Linked DNA regions of Homo sapiens: regions 1, 2, 3, 4 and 5 are each linked to region 6. The links are contacts of gene promoters, found by promoter capture Hi-C in blood cells and fetal thymus (Javierre and others, 2016). All regions are on one chromosome and are shown on one strand. Each heading gives the region's core, a stretch centred on a gene start or on the middle of the fragment in contact. The rest is flanking DNA. Distances are from core to core; before and after follow the strand shown.

What was found. Contacts are between HindIII fragments. The CHiCAGO score rates a contact against its expected background, and 5 or more counts as called.
Region 1: a fragment that was not itself captured here is called in contact with the fragment with the promoter of COG6 in region 6 in 1 of 17 cell types (fetal thymus); the score reaches 5.4 in fetal thymus.
Region 2: a contact is called between a fragment that was not itself captured here and the fragment with the promoter of COG6 in region 6, in 1 of 17 cell types (endothelial precursors). The highest score is 6.4, in endothelial precursors.
Region 3: a contact is called between a fragment that was not itself captured here and the fragment with the promoter of COG6 in region 6, in 14 of 17 cell types (megakaryocytes, erythroblasts, M0 macrophages and 11 more). The highest score is 11.1, in megakaryocytes.
Region 4: a fragment that was not itself captured here is called in contact with the fragment with the promoter of COG6 in region 6 in 8 of 17 cell types (megakaryocytes, M1 macrophages, M2 macrophages and 5 more); the score reaches 8.2 in megakaryocytes.
Region 5: a contact is called between a fragment that was not itself captured here and the fragment with the promoter of COG6 in region 6, in 2 of 17 cell types (endothelial precursors and M2 macrophages). The highest score is 5.6, in endothelial precursors.

What each region holds. Positions count from the first base shown.
Region 1 is chr13:40,650,236-40,654,446 of GRCh38, forward strand. All of the region lies in intron 1 of FOXO1 (forkhead box O1), which reads right to left. Among named protein-coding and RNA genes, the nearest start is that of FOXO1, 14 kb to the right of the region's middle. RefSeq lists enhancers at 1,480-2,001, 2,002-2,522. The HindIII fragment of the contact is 898 bases long and covers 1,743-2,640 here.
Region 2 is chr13:39,078,300-39,082,637 of GRCh38, forward strand. LOC105370169 (a long non-coding RNA gene) reads left to right here. Exons shown (of 5, transcript NR_187783.1): 2 at 2,961-3,064; 3 at 4,142-4,229. Among named protein-coding and RNA genes, the nearest start is that of NHLRC3, 42 kb to the left of the region's middle. The HindIII fragment of the contact is 227 bases long and covers 1,899-2,125 here.
Region 3 is chr13:39,044,464-39,048,912 of GRCh38, forward strand. It overlaps NHLRC3 (NHL repeat containing 3), which reads left to right. Exons shown (of 7, transcript NM_001012754.4): 6 at 2,577-2,689; 7 at 3,211-4,449. The coding sequence ends at 3,463. Among named protein-coding and RNA genes, the nearest start is that of NHLRC3, 8.2 kb to the left of the region's middle. The HindIII fragment of the contact is 2,116 bases long and covers 229-2,344 here.
Region 4 is chr13:39,060,027-39,064,680 of GRCh38, forward strand. All of the region lies in intron 1 of LOC105370169 (a long non-coding RNA gene), which reads left to right. Among named protein-coding and RNA genes, the nearest start is that of NHLRC3, 24 kb to the left of the region's middle. The HindIII fragment of the contact is 5,224 bases long and covers 355-4,654 here.
Region 5 is chr13:39,130,160-39,134,705 of GRCh38, forward strand. No RefSeq gene overlaps it. Among named protein-coding and RNA genes, the nearest start is that of NHLRC3, 94 kb to the left of the region's middle. RefSeq lists an enhancer at 127-648. The HindIII fragment of the contact is 3,061 bases long and covers 1-2,823 here.
Region 6 is chr13:39,654,273-39,658,745 of GRCh38, forward strand. COG6 (component of oligomeric golgi complex 6) reads left to right here and starts at 1,390. Exons shown (of 19, transcript NM_020751.3): 1 at 1,390-1,607. The coding sequence starts at 1,455. RefSeq lists a silencer at 1,654-1,703. The HindIII fragment of the contact is 8,496 bases long and covers 1-4,473 here.

The sequences.
Region 1 (4,211 bases), core at 942-3,441, 1.0 Mb after region 6:
AGAGGTCACTCTCGTGGCCATCTTTGTTTTGGTGGGTTTTAGCTGGCTTCTTTACTGCAACCTGTTTTACCAGCAAGGTCTTTATGACCTGTATCTTGTGCTGACCAACTATCTCATCCAGTGAGTTAGAATGCCTTAACCGTCTGGGAATGCAGCCCAGTAGGTCTCAGCCTCATTTTACCCAGCTCCTATTCAAAATGGAGTTGCTCTGGTTCACACGCCTCTTGACAAAACTACTTTTTAAGAGGTTTGAATCTCAATTAAGCTGAACAGATTAAGAATGTTTATTTCTGAGTTAGGCACCAAAGGAAGGACAGTAGGCTAAAAAGAGATCACAAAGAAGGGCAGTGACACCCTGAGGGTCCACTCCTCAAGCACAGGGACAGGCCGATTCCAAGACCAACCTAAACACTCAAGAGCAGGCAGGTAATTATTGAAGCCTGTGACAATCATGCTTTTTAAATTGTTATTTTAATAATCTGGATTCTGCTCTTGTTTAGCTTTGGTTTTTGTTGTTGTTAATTGTTGTTGTTTTTTGAGATGGAGTCTCACTCTGTTACCCAGGCTGGAGTGCAGTGGCGCAATCTTGGCTCACTGCAACCTCTGCCTCCTGGATTCAAGCAATTGTCCTGCCTCAGCCTCCCGAGTAGCTGGGACTACAGGCATGCACCACCATGCCCAGCTAATTTGTGTATTTTTAGTAGAGACTGGGTTTCACCACGTTAGCCAGGCTGATCTCAAACTCCTAACCTCAAGTGATCTGCTGACTTCAAGTGATCCGCCAACCTCAGCCTCCCAAAGTGCTGGGGTTACAGGTGTGAGCCACCACGCACTGCCTAGTTTTTTTGGTTTTTTGTTTTTTGTTTTTTGTTTTTGTTTTTTTTTAAGAAACATGGTCCCAGTGTGTTGCCCAGCCTGGACTTGAACTCCTGGGCTCAAGGGATCCTCTGGCCTCAGCCTTGCGAATAGACAAGACTACAGGCACACAGTACTCTCTCTGCCTGGATGGACTCTGCTTCCTTTTTATAAAAAGTACGTTCTAGGTACAGTTCAGAACACTGAAAGTATCAAAATGGCACTTCAAGAAATACAAAGCACCTTAAAGAAATACCCAGAATTACTGGAATATAATTCCCTAGGAGAACCACTACAGAGCACAGAGGTCACAGCAGGGAAAGTATCCACTCCAAAACCAGAAAAGAGGATATCAATAACATCAAAACATGCCTAATTACAGGAATCTTTAACCCTGATAAATTTCCTTAGTATGAATTTTTTTAATTATACCAAATAACTTCAAGAGAGGAAAAAATAAAACATTTTGATGACCTCTAAAATGTAGTCATCAACTGCTAAATGTTTAAAAATAGTGTTTTATCATCATCAGAAAGACTTCATGTTAATACAAATACATGACATACAAATATACATCTAAATATACATTATATTTATAACATAAATATACATCTAAATATACATCATATTTATAATATAAATATAAGATTATAAATAAATTCAGGTCCTACAAAATTCATTCTATCTCAAAATTTCACAAATTCAACAAACTGCTCCAGGCACACCGGTAACAGAAGAGACTGGGAGTATGGGAATCTTTCAAATTCAACGTATGTAAATGTCATAATGGGCCACTGAAGAGAAAATTAAATCCTAAAAGGTTGAAGGGGAGAGACCAATTCAGTCATACAGATTGAAGAACTCTCAGGGTAGGATGATCCACAGGAAGCTTTCCCATTCACCACATGTAAATTTCATGATGGCCTACATACCTACCCATCCAGAGAGAAAAGTTTCCAATGCAACCAGCTTGGTGCCAAGTACACAAACAACCCCAATCGATATTTACAAGTTTTGCAAGTTCCCCTCTCCTCCCTCCCCACTCCCCGTTTAGGAGGTAGCCCTGCAGAGAGAGAGTTCTGCTGCAAACAGATGAGGTAACTGTAATTCAAGAGAGCCCACTTTCTCCTGTATTCAAATCACAGTATAGTATGAATGATGGCAGGCTGAAACCTACTGGTGTAACAAACTGGTGATTCTTTTTTTTTTTTTTTTTTGAGTTGGAGTCTCTGTCGCCCAGGCTGGAGTGTAGCGGCAAGATCTCCGCTCACTGCAACCTCTGGCTCCCCAGGGTCCGCCAACACGCCTGGCTAATTTTTGCATTTTTAGTAAACACGAGGTTTCGCCATGTGGCCCAGGCTGGTATCGAACTCCTAACCTCAGGTTATCCACCCGCCTAGGCCTCCCAAAGTACTGGGATTACAGGCGTGAGCCACCGTGCCGGCCCAAACTGATGATTCTGCAAATTAAACCTCACAGCTCATGAAGGCACATCATCTCTGATACAAAATTATGGTGACTGAACATGCCTATCTTGATGTTACTTATGCAACTCTATCCTGAAGGTTAGAGAAGAGAAAAAACCTTTTTCATGTCAAAATAGAACAATAAAATCCACATTGTGACCGTTACTACCTCAAGAATCTGCCAAAATAAGAGCTTCTAGCTAAACCATATGCAAACCATTTCCTTTGACCTTGCTTCCAAGCAACCAAAATGTCTCAAGTATTTGACGTTTACTTGTATGAACCACTCCCAAATATTTATGTGGTTATTTTGCTTTCAAGCTTTGAAGGACACAACATTTACAAGCCTGGGAATTAGGTGATTCAATTATAATTTCTCTTTCCAAACTAAATTTGAAATCTAAGTGCATTTCTCTTTTTTTTTTTCTTCAAGACAAGAGTATTGCTCTGTCGCCCAGGCTGGAGTGCAGTGGCACAATCTCGGCTCACTGTAACCTCCACCTCCTGGGTTCAAGCCATTCTCCTGCCTCAGCCTCCCGAGTAGCTGGGATTACAGACACGCACCACCACGCCTGGCTAATTTTTGTGTTTTTAGTAGAGGCAGGGTTTCACCATGTTGCCAGGCTTGTCTCGAACTCCTAACCTCATGATCCACCCGCTTCAGCCTCCCAAATTGCTGACATTACAGGCACGAGCCACCACGCCCAGCCTCTAAATGCATTTCTTTTCAGGTACAGAATGCAGGGTGCCTTTTCACTCTCACCCTTGCCACTGCTGCAAGATGAAGACCCTCTCATTCTGTGCTGGGGATTCCTCACTCAAAGAGGGGTTTTCGCTCAGCCACTTGCATGGCAGGCTTCTGAGCCTGGTACCCGCAGAGGAAATGCACTAATTTTTTAATTAAAAAAGGAAAACCAATATGAAAGGAGAGGGCCGAAACACTGAGGAGACAAAGCCCAGTGCCTCCCGGCCTCAGCTAACTCTTCAGAATACCAAACCATTGAAGAAATCTTTATCTTCCCACATAATGCAAACTGGTTTCCCTCTTCCTCCTTTCCTCATTAGGCCCAAATAAGACTTAGGAGGATTAATCATGCGCATTGGCTTTTTTACTGCAGTTACAAAATACAACCACAGAGGTTCCCTCCCTTTCCTGATGCCAGGTTCACTTGGCTACTTTCAGATTTTTAACTGAGCAAAAACCCAGCCCCTCACCAGTAAGTACTTTGTAAGTACTCACCAGTACTTACAAAGGCAGTACTATAACACCTTCAAGATGGGGAAACCACGGTTTTAAACAGAAACACATATTTTCCCTCAACATGGATGCTTTATCATATCTCTAACATAGTAAGAGTAGAGAGTCACAAAACCATGACCTATATTTTCCAGACTGTTAGAACAGCAATTGAGAAAAACTGTTTATCCAAGAAATATCTTTAATGAAACAAAAAAGAACAAAAGCATACAAGGGAAGCCCTCTCTTCCACCCTCTTTCTCATCACAGTTTTGCCCTTATCAGATAAGACAGGTAGGGGTTCCAGGGCTGTTAAGCTCATGGGGTATATCATTAGGACCAGCTCTGTAACTGGAACTGCTCAAAGAATGAATGACATCTTTATTAAGACAAACATCATCTGACCAGGCTCGGTGGCTCATGCCTGTAATCTCAGCACTTTGGGAGGCTGAGGTGGGCAGGTCACAAGGTCAGGAGTTCAAGACCAGCCTAGCCAAGACAGTGAAACCTCATCTCTACTAAAAATACTAAAAAAAAAAAAAAAAAAAAAAAAAAAAAATTAGCCAGGCGTGGTGGTGGCCGCCTGTAATCCCAGCTACTCAGGAGGCTGAGACGGAGAACTACTTGAACTCTGGAGGCGGAGGTTGCAGTGA
Region 2 (4,338 bases), core at 762-3,261, 580 kb before region 6:
AGAAAGGACACCCTATTTATTAAATGGTGCTGGGAAAACTGGCTAACCACTTGCAGAAGAATGAAACTGGACTCCTACTTCTCACCATTTACAAAAATTACCTCAAGATGGAATGAAGACTTTAATGTAAGACCTCAAACTATAAAAATCCTAGAAGAAAACCTAAGAAATACTCTTCTGGCTTAGGCAAATAATGTATGACTAAGTCCTTGAAAGCAATTGCAAAACAAAAATTGACAAGTGGGACTTAATTAAGCTAAAGAGCTACTGCACAGCAAAATAAACTATCAATTGAGTAAACAGACAATCTACAGAATAGGAGAAAATATTCGCAAATGATGTACCTGACAAAAGACTAATACCCAGAATCTGTAAGGAAGTTAAACAACTAAACAAGTAAAAACCAAATAACCCCATTAAAAAGTGGGCAAAAGATATGAATAGACACTTCTCAAAAGAAGGCATACAAGTGGCCAAAAAATATATGAAAAGAAAGCTCAGCATCACTAATCATCAGAGAAATGGAAATCAGAACCACAATGGAACACCATCTTAGACCAGTCAGAATGGCTATTATTAAAAAGTCAAAGAAATAACAGATGTTGGCAGCGTTGTGGAGAAAAGAGAATGCTTATACACAGTTGATGGGAATGAAAATTTGTTCATCTCCTATGGAAAGCACTTTAGATATTTCTCAAAGAACTAGAAATAGAATTACCATTTGACCTAGCAATCTCATTACTGGGTATATGCGCAAAGGAAAAGAAAGTGTTCTACCAAAAAGAAACCTGCATTTGAATGTTTATCACAGCACTGTTTACAATAGCAAAGACCTGGAATCAACTCAGGTGCTCATCAATTGTGGATTAGATAAAGAAAATGTGGTGTATATATATATACCATGGAATACTATGCAGCCATAAAACCTCATGAAGTCATGTCCTTTGCAGCCACATGGATATAGCTGGAGGCCATCACCCTAAGTGAATTAACACAGAAATAGAAAAACAAATGCCACATGTTCTCACTTATGGGTGGGAACCAAACATTGGGTTCACAAAGATGGGAACAATAAACACTGGGGATTCCAAAAGTTGGAGGAAGTGAGGGGGACAAGTGTTGAAGAAGTACCTATCAAGAACTATGTTCACCACTTGGGTGATGGGATGCCCAAACCTCGGTGTCATGCAATTTGTCCAGGTAACAAATCTGTACATATTTCCCCTGAATCTAAAATAAAAAATAAAATGCATAAAAATAAAAAACTTCTTCTAAAGTTTTAAGTATTGTTTAAAGCAATACTTAAACAATGTATTGATGTATTTATATAATATGTAGATGTAAAAAATATAACAAAAATATCACAAAAGATGATATGGTGAAATGAAAACATGTTTTAAGGATATGAGAAGAGGTATATTATTTGAAAGTAGATCCTGACAACTTACAGAGTAATATTTTAAATTCTAGTGCAGCCATTTGAAAATGAAATAAAATGTATTTGTGATAAATCAGTAGAAGAAGGTAAAATGCTACACAAATTGTCAATTCCAAAAGAAGACTGGAAAAGAGGGGGAAAAGGAAAAAGAACAGATAGGGCAAATAGAAAACAGCATTATGTTAGACTTAAACCCAGTCGTATTAAATATGACATTAAATGTAAGTGGTTTAAATACCCCAATGAAAAATTAGTGACTGTCATACTGGATAAAAGTGAAAGAGCAAATTAATTATATTCAGTATACAAAAGATGAACTTTACATATAAAGAAAAGATAGTTCGACATAAAATGATGTAAAGATATATGCTATTACAAAAGTAGTTAGAAGAAAGCTGAAGTAATTGTATTATCAACGTAGACTACAGAACAAGAAATATTATCAGAGATAAAGAGAGAAAGCTTATAATGATAAAAGGATGAAGTGTTAGGAGGACCTAAGAATCAAAATGTGTATATAACTAATAATGCTTCAGAAATACATTAAAGGGAAAAATGACAAATAAAAGAAAAATCAAATCCATACTCATAGTTGGAAATTTAAACACCCATCTCTCAGCAATCTATAAAACAACTAGACAAAAGGAAAACTTAATAAATATGTAAGTGATCTGAACAATATTATCAAGCTTGACCAAAATGATATCTATAGAACATTGTATCCAAAAAAACTGCAGGATACATATTCTTTTCAAATGCATATGGAATAGTCATTAAGATAGAGCACATGCTGAGGCATAATACAAGTCTCAATAAATTTAAAATATTTGGAAGCATACAGAATATGCTTGTAATTTAATTAGAATTAGATTAGAAGTCAATAATAAAATAACATCTGAAAAATTACCAAATATTTGGAAAGTAAATATTACATTTGTAAATAACTCATGTGTCAGAGAAAAAAAGTCACAAAAGGAATAAGAAAATATCGTGAAGTAAATGAAAATACAGCACTTCAAAATATGTGAATCGCAATTAAAACAGTGCTTAGAAAGATAAAGCTATAAATATTTGTGCAAGAAAAGAAGAAAAATTAAAATCAGTGGTCGGCTGCTCTGCCTATGGAGTGGCCATTCCTTTACCTTCTTATTAAGCTTGTTCACTTTGGGAGGCCGAGGCGGGCGGATCATGAGATCAAGAGATTGAGACCATTCTGGCCAACATGGTGAAACCCTGTCTCTACTAAAAATACGAAACTTAGCTGGGCGTGGTTGTGTGCGCCCATAGTCCCAGCTACTCAAGAGGCTGAGGCAGGAGAATCGCTTGAACCCAGGAGGCAGAGGTTGCAGCGAGCCGAGATCGCACCACTGCACTCCAGCCTGGCAACAAAGCGAGACTCAGTCTCAAAAAAAAAAAAAAAAAAAAAAAAAAAAAAAAAGTTTGTTTTTACTTTACTCTATGGACTCGCCTCAAATTCTTTCTTGCACAAGAACTGAGAACCCTCTCTTGGGATCTGGATCAGGACCCCTTTCTGGTAACATCTTCCTGGCAAACCCCAAAGGGATGATACTGAGGAGACTTCTGACCCAAAGGAAATGGACTGGAGCACCAATTGGCTAACTTTGGGTAAGTAGTGGTGTACCCGGGTGAAAAACGGGATAGAGTTAGAGGCCCAACTTAGGAGAGTTAGAATCTCTCCTAAGATGGAGTGGGTTAAAGGCCTCTCTTAATAAAAGGCAAGGATGCATGACTGAAGTTGGATTTGAGGCCTAACTTAGCAGGGTTAGAGTCCCTTCTAAGATGTAGGGGGTGTGAGGCCCCTCCCAGTAAAGTTCCTCCTGGCTAAGAACGGATTTGATACTATGGGGTGTTAACTGCCATTCTCTTTGGATTAATCTGCCTTGCACTCTTTGCTGATGGCTATGGGTGACATAATTAGGCACGTACAGGATCATGGGACATGGGGAGCTTTTTCCTCCCCAAACAGGGACACTTAAGAGCTAATGGGACTGCTGAAAAAGATCCCTTCTTGACTGACAAGCAGCCACCTGAACTTTTGATTCAGTGTTGCTGGGATGGGTGGGTCTTTCTCTGGCCTCCCTGAGCTCTTCGCTGTCCCCAGCCTACCACAGGCAATGCTTTTCTCTCTTTCTCTCCTTTCCCTTTCTTTCTTTCTTCTTTCTTTTTTTTTTTTTTTTTTTGAGATGCAGCTCGCTGTCACCCAGGCTGGAGTTCAGTGGCGCGATCTTGGCTCACTGCAACCTCTGCCTCCTGGGTTCAAGCAATTCTCCTGCCTCAGCCTCCTGAGTAGCTGGGATTACAGGCACGCACCACCATGCCCAGCTAATTTTTGTGTTTTTAGCAGAGACGGGATTTCCATGTTGGTCAGGCTGGTCTCGAGCTCCTGACCTTGTAATCTGCACACCTCGGCCTCCCAAAGTGCTGGGATTACAGGCGTGAGCCACCACGCCTGGCCCCCTTTCTTATATTTTCTATTACTCAGGGTGACCATCTTGCCCAGAGACCACATGTTGAAACTCCTTGTCGGAGGTTGGATTGATGATGACCCAGCCCAACCAGGGGCAAGTTTGAGCCTTGCCAGTGTGATATTGGGTGCTAAGCAGAGTGGTTAATGTCTATGTTTTGTCACACGTATTTTGCTCTGGCCAGAATGGAAAAAGATAATTTTCCTTTGTGTTGCAGCTTGGCCCCCAGTGCTATGGTGCACTGAGCTGGGTTACTAGGGCCACTTAGGAAAAGGGAACCCAGAAGCCTAGCATGCGGCAAAAGGGTAAGAATTTTTATCAGTCTGACTTCTGGTCTCTCTCTCTATCTGTCTCTCTCTCTCTCTGCAAACAGGTTGAATGAACGGTAAAAATCACTGTTTATCTCGGGTAAAG
Region 3 (4,449 bases), core at 37-2,536, 610 kb before region 6:
AAGGATAGAAGGCACAAATAATGGATCTGAACATAAAGTTACCTGAAAGAAAAAGTTGCCCTCTTACTGGGAAAACTCCACTAAAAGTGTTTGAATATCTTTTCACTTCTCAAGAAAAAAATGTGCTGATCTAAAGTGGAGTGGGAGAGGTTAACCTTGGAAGTCTGAAAAAGAGTCACCTAGGCAAACTCTTGTTCTCACTAACTCCACATTGTTTAGGGAACAGAAAGCTTTAGCCAACAAATTTCAATCAGTTTCTCTCTTTTCTACCCTACTCACTACTATCTCTTTTGCATTTACTCAATTTCTAAGCATAGATCTCACTTCTTTGAGGTTACCTTTTCACAACGAAACCGCCACCAAAAAATTTGTATATTAGTTTCTCCTGCTCTTTTCCTATAGCAGCCTGTACTTCGTATCATAGTAACTATCATGCTATATTATAATCATTTGTCTGTCTCCCCTAATAGATGTCAGGCTGTTGAAAGTGCTTACTGAATCTCTTTTGCTTTATTTCTTTGTGCCTAGTACACAGTAGTCATATTTATTTATTAAATGACTAAATGTCTTGACACACAATGGGTACATTAGGCTACTTGCCTTCATACCATTAGGCATTTAATCCATTTCTACTTCTGATTCAGTGCTCAGCAAACAAACTTCTAATTATGACTTGGCTTCCTAATCATAATTGATTGACAAAAATGAGAATGTTTTGATCATTAAATCTTCTGATCTGCCATAAGACGTTAATCAACCATGTGAACTTTGTATATAAATTGGGAACTGGAAACTTTGAATTAAACTTTTGCACATTATCCTCCTGAGCTTGGGTGACTCATTGTGTGCTAAGAAAAAAAATCAAATTTCAGAACATGCGAGACCTCGACCCAGGTAAATTCATCATGGTGAGGAACGCCCTTCTAAAAGGCCTTGGAAATCATCTGATGGGGGTACTCTGGCATTCCTGAGTGATAAAGAGTGTCAATTATACAAAATTGTGTTTTATAACAATAGCAATTCTGTTCTGAGCATTTTACATAATTAATTCATTTAATCATCACCACAACCCTATATGAAAGGTTAGTCAGTTCCAGACTTGTTGTTATGTGTTAAACAGGAGTTCCCATAATCAAAATTCATTGAGTGTTGAGCAGGACAGATGATGCTAACAATCTAAAGTATCATTCCATCCTAGGGTGTAAACTATACTTCTTCCTTGGTCATTTGTCTGGGATACTAGTCTCAAACTCTTTAAGAAAACCTATCCTTACTAAAGGACCATAGATCAGGAAAAGACCTTGAGAAATTGCTTTACTTTGGCATCAACAACCTTTCTTAAATGGTGTAGTGAGTTTTGATTTGTTTCTGATTGGAGATTAATTCAATGGCTACCAAAATTCACACATATTGATGAAGCTGTAATCAGGGTTACCTGTGAAGAAATTATCTCTCAATCCACAAACCCAAGAAATCCAAAGGACCAAAAGCAGGGAGGTAGAAGTAAAGAGGACTGACCCACTCCCAGTCCATTCTTTCATACCTCTCTACAACCCTGGCCACAAGTCATCAAAAACCATTTCCTGCCGGGTGCGGTGGCTCACGCTTGTAATCCCAGCACTTTGGGAGGCCAAGGTGGGCAGATCACGAGGTCAGGAGATCGAGACCATGGTGAAACCCCATCTCTACTAAAAATACAAAAAAATTAGCCGGGCGTGGTGGCGGGCGCCTGTAGTCTCAGCTACTCGGAGAGGCTGAGGCAGGAGAATGGCGTGTACCCGGGAGGCGGAGCTTGCAGTGAGCCGAGACTGCGCCACTGCACTCCAGCCTGGGTGACAGAGCGAGACTCCATCTCAAAAAATAAAAAAAACCATTTCCCTTTATGCTTTAAGCTGCATGCATGTGGCCATGAAATGTCATTTAGAATGCATCTCACTTCTTGTCTTAGAACAAGTTCCTTAATAACCCATTACAGCCTATAACAAACCTAAATTAAACCTATTACTGTTCTTTATTTGTTGCTAAAATACCTCAGGCTTCTTCAGTTGGTTCAGCACTCTGTACATACCTTGGTAATAGCAGGTATGGGTTTAATGATACTGCAATCTGAATGAATACCTCACATCCTGCTATATTGAGCTCTTGAGAAGTAAGGCTGCTTTTCTTTGTCATGTTGCCTGGCCCAGGAGCTGACAAGCCAGTAGTACTCATTGAAAAATGAATGCTTGTTAGAGGAATGAATGAATGTTGTCAGTTTTCATTATCTACTGATCCCCTGCATTATGGTAGAGTACTCCAGCTTTTTAGTTATTCACACATTTAGAACAGTAGACAGAGTATTATAAGCTTTGGGTTAAGACAGCTTTGGGTTGTGCCTCTCCCATTTGTAAGCTCACTTCAGAGACGGCAACCTTTCTGAACTTTAGTTTTTCCTCATCTGAAAATGGGACTTAACTACCTTCTTTGGAATCCTCTTAAGTGAGATAATGTATGGTGAAACTAATGAAAATAAACATTCTTTTCCCTTTTTTCTTCTCATGGATATTTTTCAATTGACATTTTTGTGTGTTTCTCAGGTGTGGGTTGCTGACCGAGGAAATAAAAGAATCCAAGTATTTGATAAAGACACTGGGGAGTGGTTAGGAGCATGGAATAATTGTTTCACAGAAGAGGGACCTTCTTCAGTCAGGTAATTGTTTCATTTTATTGCAAAATGCTTGTTTTAGTTAGTGTATGTGTCTCACTTCCTCTGAATAGCTAGCTGAAAGTTTAAAATATTTATTGTTAATTTTGAATTAGGGGAAAATAGAAATATACAGAGAAATTTGATATCCAAGATTTTCAGATGCCAGGTAAAGTGAAAACAAGAAATAACATATGCTAGACCTCTCCTCTAGCCTTTATTTGGTAAATGTTTAAACAGGACAAAAATCAAACCCAGCCTAACATCAATTCTTCATTAATTTCATTTTGTGGACTATGATATTGATACTTTTAACAAATTTAAGCTAATCTTTGGCTTTGCTTACCATCATGGACATCTTATTCCTTCATAAACAGAATTAGATCAAATTAAAATTCTTCTTAAAAGAATCATTCAGCAAGTAGGTGCCTACTGTTGTTTGGCACAGTAGGGGATTAAAATGTTGAAAAAAAATACCCTTATGTTTTTTCACAGACATTTATTATGTTAAATGTCTTTCTCCTTAGGTTTACTCCTGATGGGAAGTACTTGATTGTGGCCCAGCTGAATCTTAGCAGGCTCTCAGTCGTAGCAGCACCCCCAGTGGGAAGCATTGGGGAGTGTTCTGTGATCAGCACAATCCAACTAGCAGATCAAGTTTTGCCACATCTCCTAGAAGTCGACAGAAAGACTGGAGCAGTCTATGTAGCAGAAATTGGAGCAAAACAAGTACAAAAATATGTCCCTTTGAATAGCTATGTTCCTTCATTTGGTTCATAATGTTTCTTTCCTGGGAATATTTCAAGTGGCAGTTCAGATTCTCAATTCACTAAGTGCTTAAAAATGATGTTCAAGCACAAGAATTTATTTTTCTAGTATAAAAGATCTAGTATCAGAAAGATTTGTTTTTGTATCATTAAGAATCTTATATTTTGTTGCCCTCTTGGGACTTAGTTTTATTTGTAAGTGCATAAGGATATTTTAATGAAAGGAAAGTAACTAAAAAATGGGGTTGGGAAGAGGGACTAAGGTGGTAACCTCATTATTTGCCCTGGTAGACTGATTCTCCCTGGGTAAAAAAAATGGGAATAAAAATGAGCTTGCATGATAATTTATTAAATTTCATGTGAAGAACTCCAGACCTCCAGATTGTGCAACTAACATAAAATGAGCTGCTTGAGAGATTGTAAATAAGATGAACTATTGATTAATTTGAGTACCCACAGAGTGCTGTGTCTTGACGACTTAAAAATGAAAAAGCAGGATTGCCTTTTGAGTAGCTTGCAGTCTAGTGGGGAGACAAGCAGGCAAACAGTCACAACACAGCAAAAGCGACCTTGGAGCATAGTGGGACTTTTGGAGTAGGAGTGCTGCATTTGACTGAGGGAATCATGGATACTTCGCAGGAGAAGTGAATTTGAGCTCAGACTTGAAAACTGAGGAGGAGCTTACCAAGGGACAAGGAGGAGAAAACAATAATTTCCAAGTAAAGAAGGTATAAAAAGTTAGAAGTGTACTGTAAACTTTGATAGGCTTTTAGGCCTTTTTTAAAGCCCAACTTGGCTTCTGTCCATTACCTATAAGATATTTAATGTCAGTCAGCCTTTAAATGTAGGAATAAAATGGCTGGCATCTAAGCACTTTAGTAAAAGAGGTTTTTACAAATAACTAAGGATTGTAGAGCTTCCTTCTCTTTTTTTTTCTTTTTCTTTCTTTTGTTTTACATGAACTCAACTTATTCCTAACATTTGTCTACCTCAAAGAAA
Region 4 (4,654 bases), core at 1,717-4,216, 590 kb before region 6:
TTTTTTTTTTTTTTTTTTTGAGACGGAGTTTCACTCTTGTTGCCCAGGTGTCACCACACCAGGCTAATTTTGTATTTTTAGCAGAGACAGGGTTTCCCCTTGTTGGTCAGGCTGGTCTCGAACTCCCAACCTCAGGTGATGCGCCTGCCTCTGCCTCCCAAAGTGCTGGAATTACAGGCATAAGCCACCACGCCCAGCCCTGAGTCTTTTTGCCATTCTACAAGTGCTTGTTTTATCAATATGACTTCTCCAGTGTTGGATGCATATGTATTTAGGATAGTTATGTTTTGCTGAATTGAACCTTTTATCATTATATAATGCCCTTCTTTGTCCTTTTTGACTATGTTGGTTTAAAGCTTGTTTTGTCTTATGTAATAATAGTTACCCTGCTCTTTTTTGCTTTCTGTTTGCATGATAGATTTTTCTCCATTTCTTTATTTTGAGACTATGGGTGTTTTTACACGTGGGATGGGTCTCTTGAAGATAGACGGTTGGGTCTTGACAGTCTGTGCCGTTTAAGTGGGGCGTTTAGACTATTTATGTTCAAGGTTAATGTTGATATGTAAGGATTTGATCCTGTCATTTTGTTATTAATTGGTTGTTTTGTAGACTCAATTATGTAATTGCTTTGTAGGATCTGTTGTGTATGTACTTAAGTGTGTTTTTGTGGTATCAGATATTGTTCTTTCCTTTCCACATTTAGAACTCTCTCCTTAAGTACCTCTTGTAAGGCAGGTCTGGTGGTAATGAATTCCCTTAGTCTTTACATGTTTGAAAAGGATTTCATTTCTCCTTTGCATGTGAATCATAATTTGGCAGGATATAAAATTCTTGGTTGGAATTTCTTTTCTTTAAGGATGCTAAATATACATCCCCAGTCTCTCCTGGCTTGTAAAGTTTCTGCTGAGAACTCTGCTGTTAGCCTGATGGGGTTCCCTTTGTAAGTGACTTGGCCTTTTTCCCTAGCCACCTTTATGATTTTTTTTTTCCTGTTGACTTTGGAGAATCTGATGACTGTGTGTCTTTGGGATGGTTGTCTTGTATAATATCTTGCAGGTGTTCTCTGGATTTCTGGAATTTGCATGTCTACCTCTCTAGTGAGATTGGGGAAATTTCTGTGGACTATATCCTCAAATATGTTTTCCAAGTTGCTTACTCTCTCTTTTTCTCTCTCAGGAATGCCAATGAGTTGTAGAGAAAGTTTGTTTCTTTCTTTAAAAATTACTATGTCATCTCTCCTGGACCATTTTACTGGCTTCCTTGGATTGAGTTTAAACTTTCTCCTGAATCTCATTGAGCTTTTTTGCCCTTCAGATTCTGAATTCTATGTCTGTCATCTCTCTCAGCCATTTCAGTCTGGTAGGGAACCAGACATTGCTGGGGAGCTAGTGCAATCATTTAGAGGTAAGGAGATGCTCTGACTTTTGAATCATCAGAGTTCTTGGGCTGATTCTTTCTCATATGAGAGGGCTGGTGTTGCCTTATCATTTTGAAATGGCTGTTGTTTGGATGGGGCTATTTGTTTTTATATTCTTTATTTCCCTTGAGGGTTTGACTGGAGTATGCTGCCTATAGTCGATTGACTTCATTCCTGGGTGCTTTCAGAGGGTCAAGGCTCTGTGCGGGATCTTTCTTTGTGGCTAGATTCCTGCATTGGGTTTCACTGGTGATGTATGGTGAAAGAATTTATGTTTGGTGGTTTAATTAAGGCTGTGATCTAGTACGTGGCACTTAAGAGTAAGGGCAAATAAAAAACATTTTTAATTAAAAAAATTTGTTAAAAAAGAAAAAGCATGATGTAAGCTGATAAAAAAGACTATTTTTTGAAAAGAGTAAGGGCTGGTAGATAGGCTCTTAGTCACACGCCTCTTATATTTTGGTGCATTCGCAGCAGTACTCTGGGGTGAGTTAGACGGGGGTTGGCAAGAGATAACCTCACCAAATCCATTCCTGGGTCTTGGAGAGCCCCCTCCAGTCACTGGTGCCATGCTTACATTTTCTTAGTCCCAAAGTGGGGTGCTGGTAGGCTGTGTTCTCCCTTCCCTTAGTGTCACCCAAGCCAAAGTTTAGGTCACCAGGAGACCCGCAGGTCCTTGGGGACCCACTGGTCCTCTGTGCTTGGCAGAGTCAGAGCAGGTTGTGGGATATGTCAACAGGTGCCCCCTTGATGCAGTAGGTCAAGGGTGAGGATCCCTGGGCAGGGCAGTGTTGCTGTGGGTATGCAGCTGGTGTGGTGACTGCAGCTTGGGTTTTTTTTCCTAGCAGATGGCTGTGGGGACCATTCCACTCGTGCTCCCACAACGGGATCTCCTTACGGTGTCTATCCTAGTAGCTGGCATGACCAGCTAGTTTTGTCTCACTCCACCTGCACACAGATTGCTGGGCTGTTGGTTGTTCTGGGCCATGGGGCTCCTTCTGGCAGAGGCTTTGGCTGACAAACAGGCTACACCTTTCCCTGGCTGGTCTTGCAGAGGGAAGCACGTTCTGCTCCTGCTCCAGCCCACAAACCCACACCTTATACTTCTCAGTGTTTGGAGAGTAGGGGCTCTTACCCCAATCTAGCTCTGGCCATAGATCTCAGTTGGATATTCCTCAGCTGTGTGTCCGAACTCTGGGGGATTGGGACTGGACCTGTGGCTTTGTCCTCTGACCTCTTAGGGTTGAGCACAGGCTATGCAGGGGGGCCGAAGTGCTCCCAGGCCACCAGCAAAGCACTCAGGAGGGGCAGTGGAAGCTGTGCTATGTGTATGCTTTTGTGGGAGCAGCCAGCCGGAAGACTTGGGAGGGGCTGGCAGAGAAGGGGGCGTGGCAGATTAGAGTCACCCTGGTCCCATGGGAAAGATAGCCCTGCTCTCTCCTGGCCTTGGCAGTCAGCAGAGGTTAGAGCCACAGGGAGATGGTTGTTGATGGTCGTGTTTTGCTGTAGCTGCCCCCCGCAAAACCTTCTGGGCTCCGTGCAGGCTCAAACTCTGCCTCTGTCTACTCTCTGGGCAGCTCCCCTTGCCAATCCAAATATCTGTAAGGGTGGTGGGAGCTCTTGCAGCTAGGATCTTGGAGGTCCACAGCAGGAGAGTGTTGCCTTGCAGTTCTTTCACTCACCCCTTCCTCAAGACCTGTTTAAGGTCTGGAGCTGGTCCCAGTGCTTGGCAACTCCATGTAGGGTTCCCAACTTCCTCCCTCTTCCACCTCAATGTCTGTATCACCCTTCTGTCAGCACTCAGTTTTTCCACTCAAGAGATCTGTTTGAAACGTGATGGTTTACCTGATATTTTGGTTTCTCTTGGTGGGAGAGGCACTTCCTAGTTGCATCAAGTCAGACATCTTGTCCCCCTCCCTCCACAAAATATTTTCTATTTTCATTCCATGGATCCTTGTCAGTGAAACAAAACAACATATCTTAAACAAAAATGTAATATAACAGAAAGAAATGTTCACTTTTTTATGTGATGAAAAGTCAAGAATGACGTAAAAAGGTGATGAGGTATTTAAATCAGTAACTCAGTAAGCATTCATATTTGGCACGCACACCACGGACTGGATGCCTAGTTTTCAGCTCTCCAATAGAAGTGATGGTGATAATATATCATATATTTCATATCTTATACATATATGTCATATGCTGTATCTCTGCTGTTCAATAGGGTAGCCTCTAGCTCATATGGTTTTAGACACTTGAAATGTAGCTTGTGTGTCTGAGGAACTGAATTTTCTACCATATTTCTAATTAATTTAAATTGTCTCATGTGGCTATTGGCTACTATATTGGATAGCTTAGTAGGTGACTAGATTTTCATAATGATGATAAATCATTTGTTTTCACTGAATTCCCCTGTTCATTTGTGTAATTTGCCTTCTGCCAACCCTTTAATGTAATGTATTATCCAATGTGACCTTCATGCTTAGAAATTTGGAGTTCTGGGTGTTTGGATTTTACATTTTTTTGTGTGTGTGGATGTGAGCCCAAGGGGATGGCAGCAGATGGGGAAGATCAGGAATTTCTAAAAAGTCATTTTGGATCCAAACCAAACTGAGTTTCTGAACTACCATGCCAGACTATAAACAACACACATCTTTACCTACTCAGTCCCTATTGAGGTAATTTTAACCAAGAAAAAATTAAGAGAAGGTGGTGTCTTCTACACACTTTGCTTTTACAAGGTGACCTAATTTTGAGTAACACCCAGACTGAGTTAGCTACAAAAATGTAGGTAACTGAACAAATCACCCTACGAATGAGTTATTCAGTATTTTTTTTTTCATTTGAACTTTAGAAAAAAATCTCCTCCCTCTTTTTCAGTAGGTTTTGTTTTGGCATGATTAATATTGGACTCCTTATTCTTGAGTAATTATAAAACATTTAGTTGTTTCTGTAGTCGCTTCTTATATCTGATTGTAAAGCCACGTTATCAGGCTTGAGGAGGAGAAAGTTTATTCCTTTTATTTTTTTTTAACAGATGCCCCATGCCAGGCAGTGAGGTTTTTTGGCTTTATTTTTTAATTTTGGTAAAAACCAAATAATATATAATTTACCATCTTAACCATTTTTAAGTATACAGGTCAGTAGTGTTAACAGTATTCACATTGTTGAATAGCAGATAGCTAGAACTCTTTCATCTTTACAAACTGAAACTCTATATTCATAGAACAACTCCCT
Region 5 (4,546 bases), core at 43-2,542, 520 kb before region 6:
TGCCTTCATTCTACCTCCACTCCAATAATTTCCCTATAGTTCACAATGCCACAAAAGTTTCATGAAACATGTCTAATCACATCACTCTTGTTTTGTCTTGGTTATCCAAGACAACTTGTTACACACAAAAGAATCCCAAAACTTAGTTACTTAACACAATAAGAAACATTTACTAATCTCATTGTTTTCATGCATCAGGACTTTGGGCGTTGCTTAGCTGGGTATTTCTGGCTAAAGGTCTTTTACGAGATTGCAATGAAGCTGTCACGTGGGGCTGCAGTCATCTAACGGCTTGAATGGAGCTGGAAAATCCACCTCCAAGGTGGCTCCCTCCTGTAGCTGGCGACTTGATGCTGGCTATTGAAGGAGGCCTTTGTTCCTCACCACATGGTCCTCTCTTAGCCTGCTTGAGTGTTCTCACAGCATGACACTGGCTTTCTCTGCAGCGAGCACCCAGGAGAGAAAGAGCCATGCCGAAGCCAACCTTTTTATGACTTAGCCTCAGAAGTCACGTAGCATCACTTTGTGCCACATTCTGTTCGTTAGAAGTGAGTCATTAAGTTTGGTTCACATTCAAGGGTTGGGGAATTAGGAACCACCTTTGGAGGACTGTGAAAAAATTCACTGACATATTTTAAGACCATCCCACATTCTAAAAATCTTTCAATGTCTTTTACAATATTCCTACCACTTTCTTTATTTCCTTATCCTTCAGCTCTGCAAAACTGCTCACAGTTGTATAAACTTGCTGTGATTTTTTTCTGTGCCTATGCCTTGTACATACCATCCCCTTTGCTTGGAATATCTTTTTTACTTCTTTACCAAGCTAACTTCTACTCATCCTTCAAAATCCTAACGTAAACGTAAACCCCGGCATAAATATTTTCAAATATTTCCTGATTCTGCACCCCCACTGCTTGTTTTCTACCAATTAGACTTAATAGAGAGCACACCTTTTTTTCCACTTATTTGAATATTTCTTTTTAGCCAGATCTATAAGGTTGGGCTAGTATCTTTCAGCTCTATATCGTCATTGCTTAGTACAGTTTCTGCCACATTTGTAGATACTGAGAATTTATAAAACAAAGATGTGAGTTCATTAATATTAGTGCCTAGCCCCCACAAAAGCTCAGCAAATGAACAAAATAAATACTAAGGACTTTAACCAAGTCAGTGATAGTAGGTATGAGAGAGGAGGAAGAATTTAAGAAAAATGCAGTGACTGGATCCAGGAAGAGAGAGAGAGAAGAAAGAATCAGGATGATTCAGTGGTATCTAATTGAGCTATTAAGTTAATTAAAAAATAAGAGTCAATTACAGGGGAGAGATGATCATGAATTCAGTCTGAAGATGCAGGTTTTAGAATTCCTGTTATTCTTCTAGAGAATTTCCTCAGAGGCCTTAGAAAAAGGGTCTGAAAGTCAGGAGAAAGATTACACCAGAGATAAATGTGAGAAACACTATCTATACCTCCCTCATTACTTTCATTGTCCTGTATATAGAAAGGACCATAAAAGGTGGGAAAAATATTGTCAAGGAAAGAGATAGAATAAATTACCTTCCTTAAGGTTACAAAGGTAGGGCAAAAGTTGATATGGTTGACTATTGCCTTCCACCCGTGGGGTCACTCATGCCAGATATTCTGGCCAACTCTAGGCACCCTTCTCCCCAGCATTGTTCATGAACTACTGAGGCAAATTACCAGCCACTCCCTACTCTAATGTAGTGTGGATCAGAGATTGTTACAATTTTCAACTGCTATGTCTATGTGCTGAAGCTCAATTCAATTTTATTCATAATTCTATGGCACCACTTAGAATTGTTGTTGATAAACCAATCAGTATGTTGGCTTGCCTAGATTCTAAATGCATCTTAAGTTATGTATTATTAATCTAAAAATTAAAATGTTAGTTTTTTCAACCTGAGAAATAAAACTATTCTCTAGAAGTAATTGAAGTTACTTTTTCTATAATCAATAACCTCTTCAATTAGCATAAATATAGGTAAAAGAGAAGAATGGGTTTCTAAGTTATGCATTTTTGAAAATTAGTCGTTTTCAGCCATCATCTCATGAATAATTAGGGTAATTCGCAAGCCAATTTTAGGAGAAAATGACTTTTTAAGGCAATTCATTTTTTTTTCCACTCAGTATTTTTTTCCAAACCTTGTTTGTTTTTTAAACTTGGAATGCATTTGAGAAAGTTTTCAGATTCTATTTCCCTCTGAAGAGCCTCTCTGCAGAACCTCGAAGAGAGATCAGCCTTTGAATCATCTCAGCAGTTGTAAAAGGAGTCAGCCATGTAAGCCAGAATGAGTCATATCAAAGCACCTTTGATCATTTTATTAGCTATTCACTCTTTCAAGAGCTAGGACAGGAGATTATAATAGATGTCTTGCTTTCAATGTGTGCTTCTTCTGCCATTACTTCTCAGCTGCCAGTAGAGAGGGCTGAAAGCAGATGGCAGCCAGGAGAAGTTTGTCTCCAGCTTCATGTGGAGCATTTCAACTACAGAGTGGCTTTAGGCAAGCAGGGGTGTTTCTGTCTATGTCTCTGTCTGACCTCCTCAGTCCATGCCTCATGGAAGAAGCAGCTCTACAGCACATATCCCAGTGAGTTATGTGTTCTCATAAAAACATACTGCAATTCACAAAGCTATCAACTCTTAGTCATGAAACAAAAATACCTGTCAAGAGTTTTATTTTAACGTGTTAATGACACCACAAATAGAGGACAATGCCATCATTTCAGGGGACAGTTTTACACAGCAGGCCTCTTCCAGAGCATTCAGGATACTGCAGGATGCTTCTGGTACTAATTAGAGAAGCTTCTTTGTGGACACCATAAATCAGTTGTCACCAGAGTACTGTATGCAGGGAAGCTTTGCATCTATTAGCACAGAGGCCAAACCCTATGACCATTACCACTGACCAATAGTTCCTGGACACGGCTCATTGCTCAGCAGATAACTTTATATTGTCCTCATAGTCCCGAGATGATAGAATGGCTTATTAGGTACCATTTTGCCTGTTGCACTCACAGACACACCCTCCAGTGCTCAAGGCCCTGGGATAAATTTGGAAAGTAATTCACACGAAAATATAATCTATTATTGCACCAAATACCTGAGCTCCTTTTGAGAAGTATGGAGTGAGATTTGGAATTTTCAGGCAAATTCCACCTCATTTAGCAGGACTCACCCAATGTAACAACCCAACACAGAGTCCCCTGAGCTCAATGTTGGGCCTCTTCTGCTGGGAGACTTTCAGCCCTGTTTGTAGCTTCTCTCTCTCTCTCTCTTTTTTTTTTTTTTTGACAGAATCTTGCTCTGGGTGCCCGGGCTGGAGTACAGTGGTGTGATTTCCGCTCACTGCAACCTCTACCTCCTGGGTTCAAGTGATTCTCCTGCCTTAGCCTCCCAAGTAGCTGGGACTACAGGCATGTGCTACACAAGCTAATTTTTGTATTTTTTAGTAGATATGGGGTTTCACTATGTTGGCCAGGCTGGTCTTGAACTTCTGACCTCAAGTAATCCACCCACCTTGGCCTCCCAAAGTGCTAGGATTACAGGCATGAGCCACCATGACTGACCACAGCTTCTCTTTTTTAGGGACCATTTCTCAGCAGGAATGTCAGCAATGGACATGGCATTAGGCGTTATTATGGGCTGAATTTTGTCCCCCTAAAATTCAAATGCTGAAGCCCAGACTCTCAGTACCTCAGAATGTGACTGCATTTGGAGAAATAATTGTTTAAAAGGTGATTAAGTTAAAGCGAGGTCATTAGAATTCTAATCCGGTATGACTCATGTCCTTATAGAAGAGGGGATTAAGGCATAGGATTTAAATATTTTCCATTCAAAGTTAGTGCATAGTAACAGCAATATGATTGCTTATAAGCAGTGTTCCTTTTTTGGGAAAGGTGTATTTAACATTCCATGTTAAGGATGTAATAGTCAAGGGGTCTTTTACCTCAGCCAAGATGTCTTTTATCTCAGATACAATCTGGTCTGAGACAGAAACAAGAAAATAAGGAAAGAAGTTAATCTATAACAAAAGGTCAGTAACTAAGAGGTCATGCTCCATGACTTGGTCTTCAAAGTCAACCTCGCTTAGGGCCTAACAACTTTTAGAAGCCCCAAATAGACAGAAAATCCACTTTCCTTCATATTTCCCCCTTTTCTTCAAGATCTTTTGAAGAAACATTGCAGAAAAATCATTTTGTTTAGAGAAGTGGTTAAATCCTGCATTCCTAGGAAGGCTCATTCCTATAGAGTCATGTCCAGTGGAGGAGGGAAATGTTTAATTTGTAAGATGGAAATGTGTAAGGTGGAATTATAAGGCAACAGGAGGAAAGTAACTTGGTCTGGTTCAGGTGACATGACCATATTTTTAACTAAATACAATTTTCTGAGCAGTCATTCTTCTAGTTTTAGTCATTGATCATAGGCAAGCTGAAATACAAATCGCGAGTAATTTGATAACTAGGAAAATGACAATTGTGCTTATGATTATGATAATAACTACTCAAAGAACAGGATGAAATAGA
Region 6 (4,473 bases), core at 140-2,639:
CTTTCTATCTCTATTGATTTACCTATTTGGGAGATTTCACATAAAGAGGTCATACAATATGTGGTATTTCATGACCGCTCCTGACTTGGCATGTTATCATCGTCATTCCTTTTAATTGTACATATTTGCAAGCTCTACATTATATTATTGCTTTGTATATATGCAAATTCATTTGGATATATACACCTTAGGTAAACCTTTGATATTTTAATTTTGGTTACACTGAACTTAAATTTATCTGTGAAAGAGAAAAGACATCTTACAATATTGAGTCTTCCTGTTGAAGAGAACAATATATTTTTTCATTGATTTAAGTTTTATGTTCTCCCAGTAGCATTTTAAAGTTTTCTTCATCTAGGTTCTCTGTATTTTTTGTTGAATTCATACCTAGATATTGCTGCTTTTTGTATATTTTTTTCTTTTGGATAGTTGGGCCTTCTCTTCTTCATTAGAGTAGAGATGAGTGGTTTTGTCAGTGCTTTCTTTATGTGACCTCTGTAATAGGTAATTTTCCCTTAAGTCTGATATACAATATAACTATGTACATAGACATATATGAAACAAGGAAAATTTATGACAAGAGCCAAATAGTGTTTCTGACAAATAATTCACAGAAGCCCAGCGATTTTATTTTGATCCAAATTTTAAAAACTGAGAAAAGAAAGAAAAAAAGCAATGATGTTTGTTTTCCAGAGTTTCCCGGGAAGTTTTTTCAACTTGTTACATTTTTATCCATTACTTTACAGCTACATGGGCTCTGGTCCATTTGTGTCAGGGCCAAGTTCATCTTGTTTTGAGGCCTGTACACTTACACACTTTCTTCTGCCTGGGAATGATTTCTCCTCACATTCTGATTCTCCTTCAAATCTCAGTTTAAGTGTCAACTCCTCTCCAAACCTCCCTGAGTGAAGTGGGCCTTTCCCTCCATTTTCTTTCACTGTACTACTTCATCCCCTGAGCACTCATCACAACCTAATAACATCTATTAACAGCTTTGTCTGTTTCAGACACACAATGTAGATTCTCCAATGCCTACCAGAGTACCTGGCACATACTATGCCTTCAATAAATAATTTTCAAAAAAATGAATTCAGATAAGGCAAATGTAATTTAAACTTTCAGTTAACTTATATTGAATGTATATGCCAGGCACAAGTCATGGTGTATTTTACATACTACATTTGGTTGTCATCTAATTAGCTCTGAAGGTCGCAGATCCATAATTCCAAAGTCCTCTCTAATCCTATAAATTTTCTCCTTCTACCTGAGGGTCTTGTCCCGCCCCCCACATCTTCTCCGCCCCTCACGCTTCTGAGAGCCCAAGCAGGGTTACCCGGCGAAGACTTCCGGGGCCGATGCGCATGCGCGGCCGATTTGCACATGCGCAATACTCGCGCTGCCTCCGTGGTCCCTGCCTGGCTGAGGTGGCAGCAGGGGGCGGGACGCGCAGCGCTATGGCAGAGGGCAGCGGGGAAGTGGTCGCAGTGTCTGCGACCGGGGCTGCCAACGGCCTCAACAATGGGGCAGGCGGGACCTCGGCGACGACCTGCAACCCGCTGTCGCGCAAGCTGCATAAGATCCTGGAGACGCGGCTGGACAACGACAAGGTAACCGGGGCTGGCGGGGCCGGAGTCACAGGTTCCTGCGGGGCTGAGCCGGGCCAGGGGCGGCGTCTGTCAGGGACCCACCGCGGTCTCCCTCGTCCCGGCAGCAGAGGGACCGCGAGTGACCCCAGACCTGCGGGCTCCGCTGCTCTGCGGGCGCCGGGGGCGGTGAGAAGGGGGAGCCCCAGCAACCTCCGGAAAAGCGAAGGGGTTTCCTGGGTGTTCTCTCCACCTGAAAAGGTGCCTTCAAGGCTCTCTGGATGGGATTGGTGAACGGTGGTGCCTCGAGAAGTGTCCTCCAAACACCCCTGGAGGCGTTTGGCTGTGTGAGCTGGGAGAGTGGAGGAGAGCACAAGACTGGATATGAAACAGATGCAAAAGAGCAGATTCCAAGATAAGGTAGCGCAAATGGGGGTCGGGAGACCAAGAGAGCAGTGGTAGGGATAAGGGTGCATTTCCACGGACAAGTGACAACAATTGCAATAATTTGCAGCGCGAAAGAACTACCTTTGCCCGTGGCTGAAATGAACTCATATCTACTAGTTTTTGTTGAGCCAAGCGCTATGATTTGTGGGCTCAGGCTGTATTTCTTTAGAAGATAAACTGACAGCATGCTCTCACAAGTACCTCCTGAAACTTAAGTTGGACTTTACAGCTCCTCACATACCCAGCCATCTCTTCTGTCTCTGTGGGTCGCTAGGTAAATTGGTCATGACAGTGTAACATAAAGAAGAACATATGTCAAAGTTAGAGAGTTTTATAGGTGAATATGTAGGTAACTGAAAATAAGCTGTCGATAACAATTTGATTCCGATATGTAAAAAAATAACATTGCAATGTAATGAATAAGAAATTAGGGCTCTGGAGACTACCACTTATTAGATAGAACCACTAAATGTGTGCATCATGATTTGAGTAAGTCCCTTCACTAATCTCAGCTTCTGTTTAGGAATTAGGAATCCTGCTGTTAAGTTTCTCATGGTTGTTATTTGAGGACTCAGTGAGAGACTCCAGGTAAAGTCCTTTGCAAAGAGCCTGGCACTTACTCTTTCTTAACAAATATTAATTTTATCATAAAATTTATGAAGTGTTTAATGTGTCTCATATTGATATTTATTATATCATTTAAGACTGCTACTTGCTCTGATATAGATAACATGGCCTTCTTTTTTGGACAGAGTTTTGCTCTTTTTGCCCAAGCTGGAGTGCAATGGGCGCAGTCTCGGCTCACTGCAACCTCTGCCTCCCGGGTTCAAGCGATTCTCCTGCCTCAGCCTCCCAAGTAGCTGGGATTACAGGCATGTGCCACCACGCCTGGCTAATTTTGTATTTTTATTAGAGACGGGGTTTCTCCATGTTGGTCAGGCTGGTCTTGAACTCCTGACCTCAGGTGATCTGCCCGCCTCAGCCTCCCAAAGTGCTGGGATTACAAGGCGTGAACCACTGCGCCCGGCCACATAACCTTCTTTTTACCATGAGGAAAATAAAGCATGGAGAGAGTGCAGCTAGGTTGTCATATAACTAGTAACTGGTGGAACTGTAATTTGCATCTGAGTCTGTGATTTCATTCGTTCAACATTACTGATTACTTCTTTGAACCAGACCTTAGGACATTTCAAGGCTATAGTCTAAAGAAACTGCTTCACTTCATGGGTTTTTTTTTTCTGTACAGTAAGTATTTATAGTTGTAAACATATTTTTGCTTCCTCTGAAATATTAAATTGAATTTATATAAATAGTTTTACTGTTTTTGTCAATCCAGCCAATATTTCAAAATAACAAATAGAAACATGAAAGGGTAAGCCTACTAGAATATACAGTAGTGGAGGTGTAGAAATGTATATCTGCAGAATTTAGTGTACAATGGGGATGTCCTGGGCTTGGTTCTCTGCTCTCTCTTCCATTCATGTTTTCTCTGTAAGAAAAATCTTGTACTTTCATGGTTTTAAGTAGCAAAAAGCATGATTACTCTCAAATTTATAACTCTGTTTCTGACATCTACTGAGCTCCAGATTTGTAGAATTAGTTGTCTATACTATACCTCCAATTGGATACTGATTGACGTCATAGAACTTAACATGGGCGGAACTCTTGATTTTTCCCTAAACTGGTTCCGCTCTCACTAAAGAACGTCACCATTTACCCAGTCAAGCAAGAAGCATATGAATAATTTTGGATTCTTGTCACTTTTTTTTTTTTTTTTTTACATCTCCTGCAAATCCACAAACATATCTTATAGGTTCTACTTTGAAGAATATTTTTGGAATATCTTTTTTTTTTTTTTGAGACCAAGTCTCACTCTGTCGCCCAGGCTGGAGTCCAATGGAGAGAACATGGCCTTACTGTAGCCTTGATCTTGCTGGCTCAAGCGATCCTCCTGCCACAGCCTCCCAGGTAGCTGGGTCTACAGGCACATGCCACCATACCTGGCTAATTTTTTGATTTTTTTATAGAGATAGGGGTCTTACTATGTTATGCAGGCTGGTCTTGAACTGGCATCAAACTATCCTCCCAACTTGACCTCCCAAACTGCTGGGATTACAGGTGTAAGCCACCGTGCCATATTTTGGAATATCTCTTTTTCATTTGTACTACTGCCATCTTGGTCTAAGCCACTATCAAACCATACTGGGATTATTTTTGTTTTTTCTCTTACCTACCTCCTTTCTTGTACCCCTTTACCATTCATTTTCCTTACAAAGTTGGAATAAACTTTTATAAATATAAATCGTATTACATTACTCCCCTGCCTAAAATCGTAATAATTTCTCATAACTTCAGTCATAGTGGCCTTCCTTCTACCACTTTAGGGTCTTTGTACTCATTGTTTGCTCTGTCTGTGGAAGGCTTTGTCCCCATGACTGGCTGT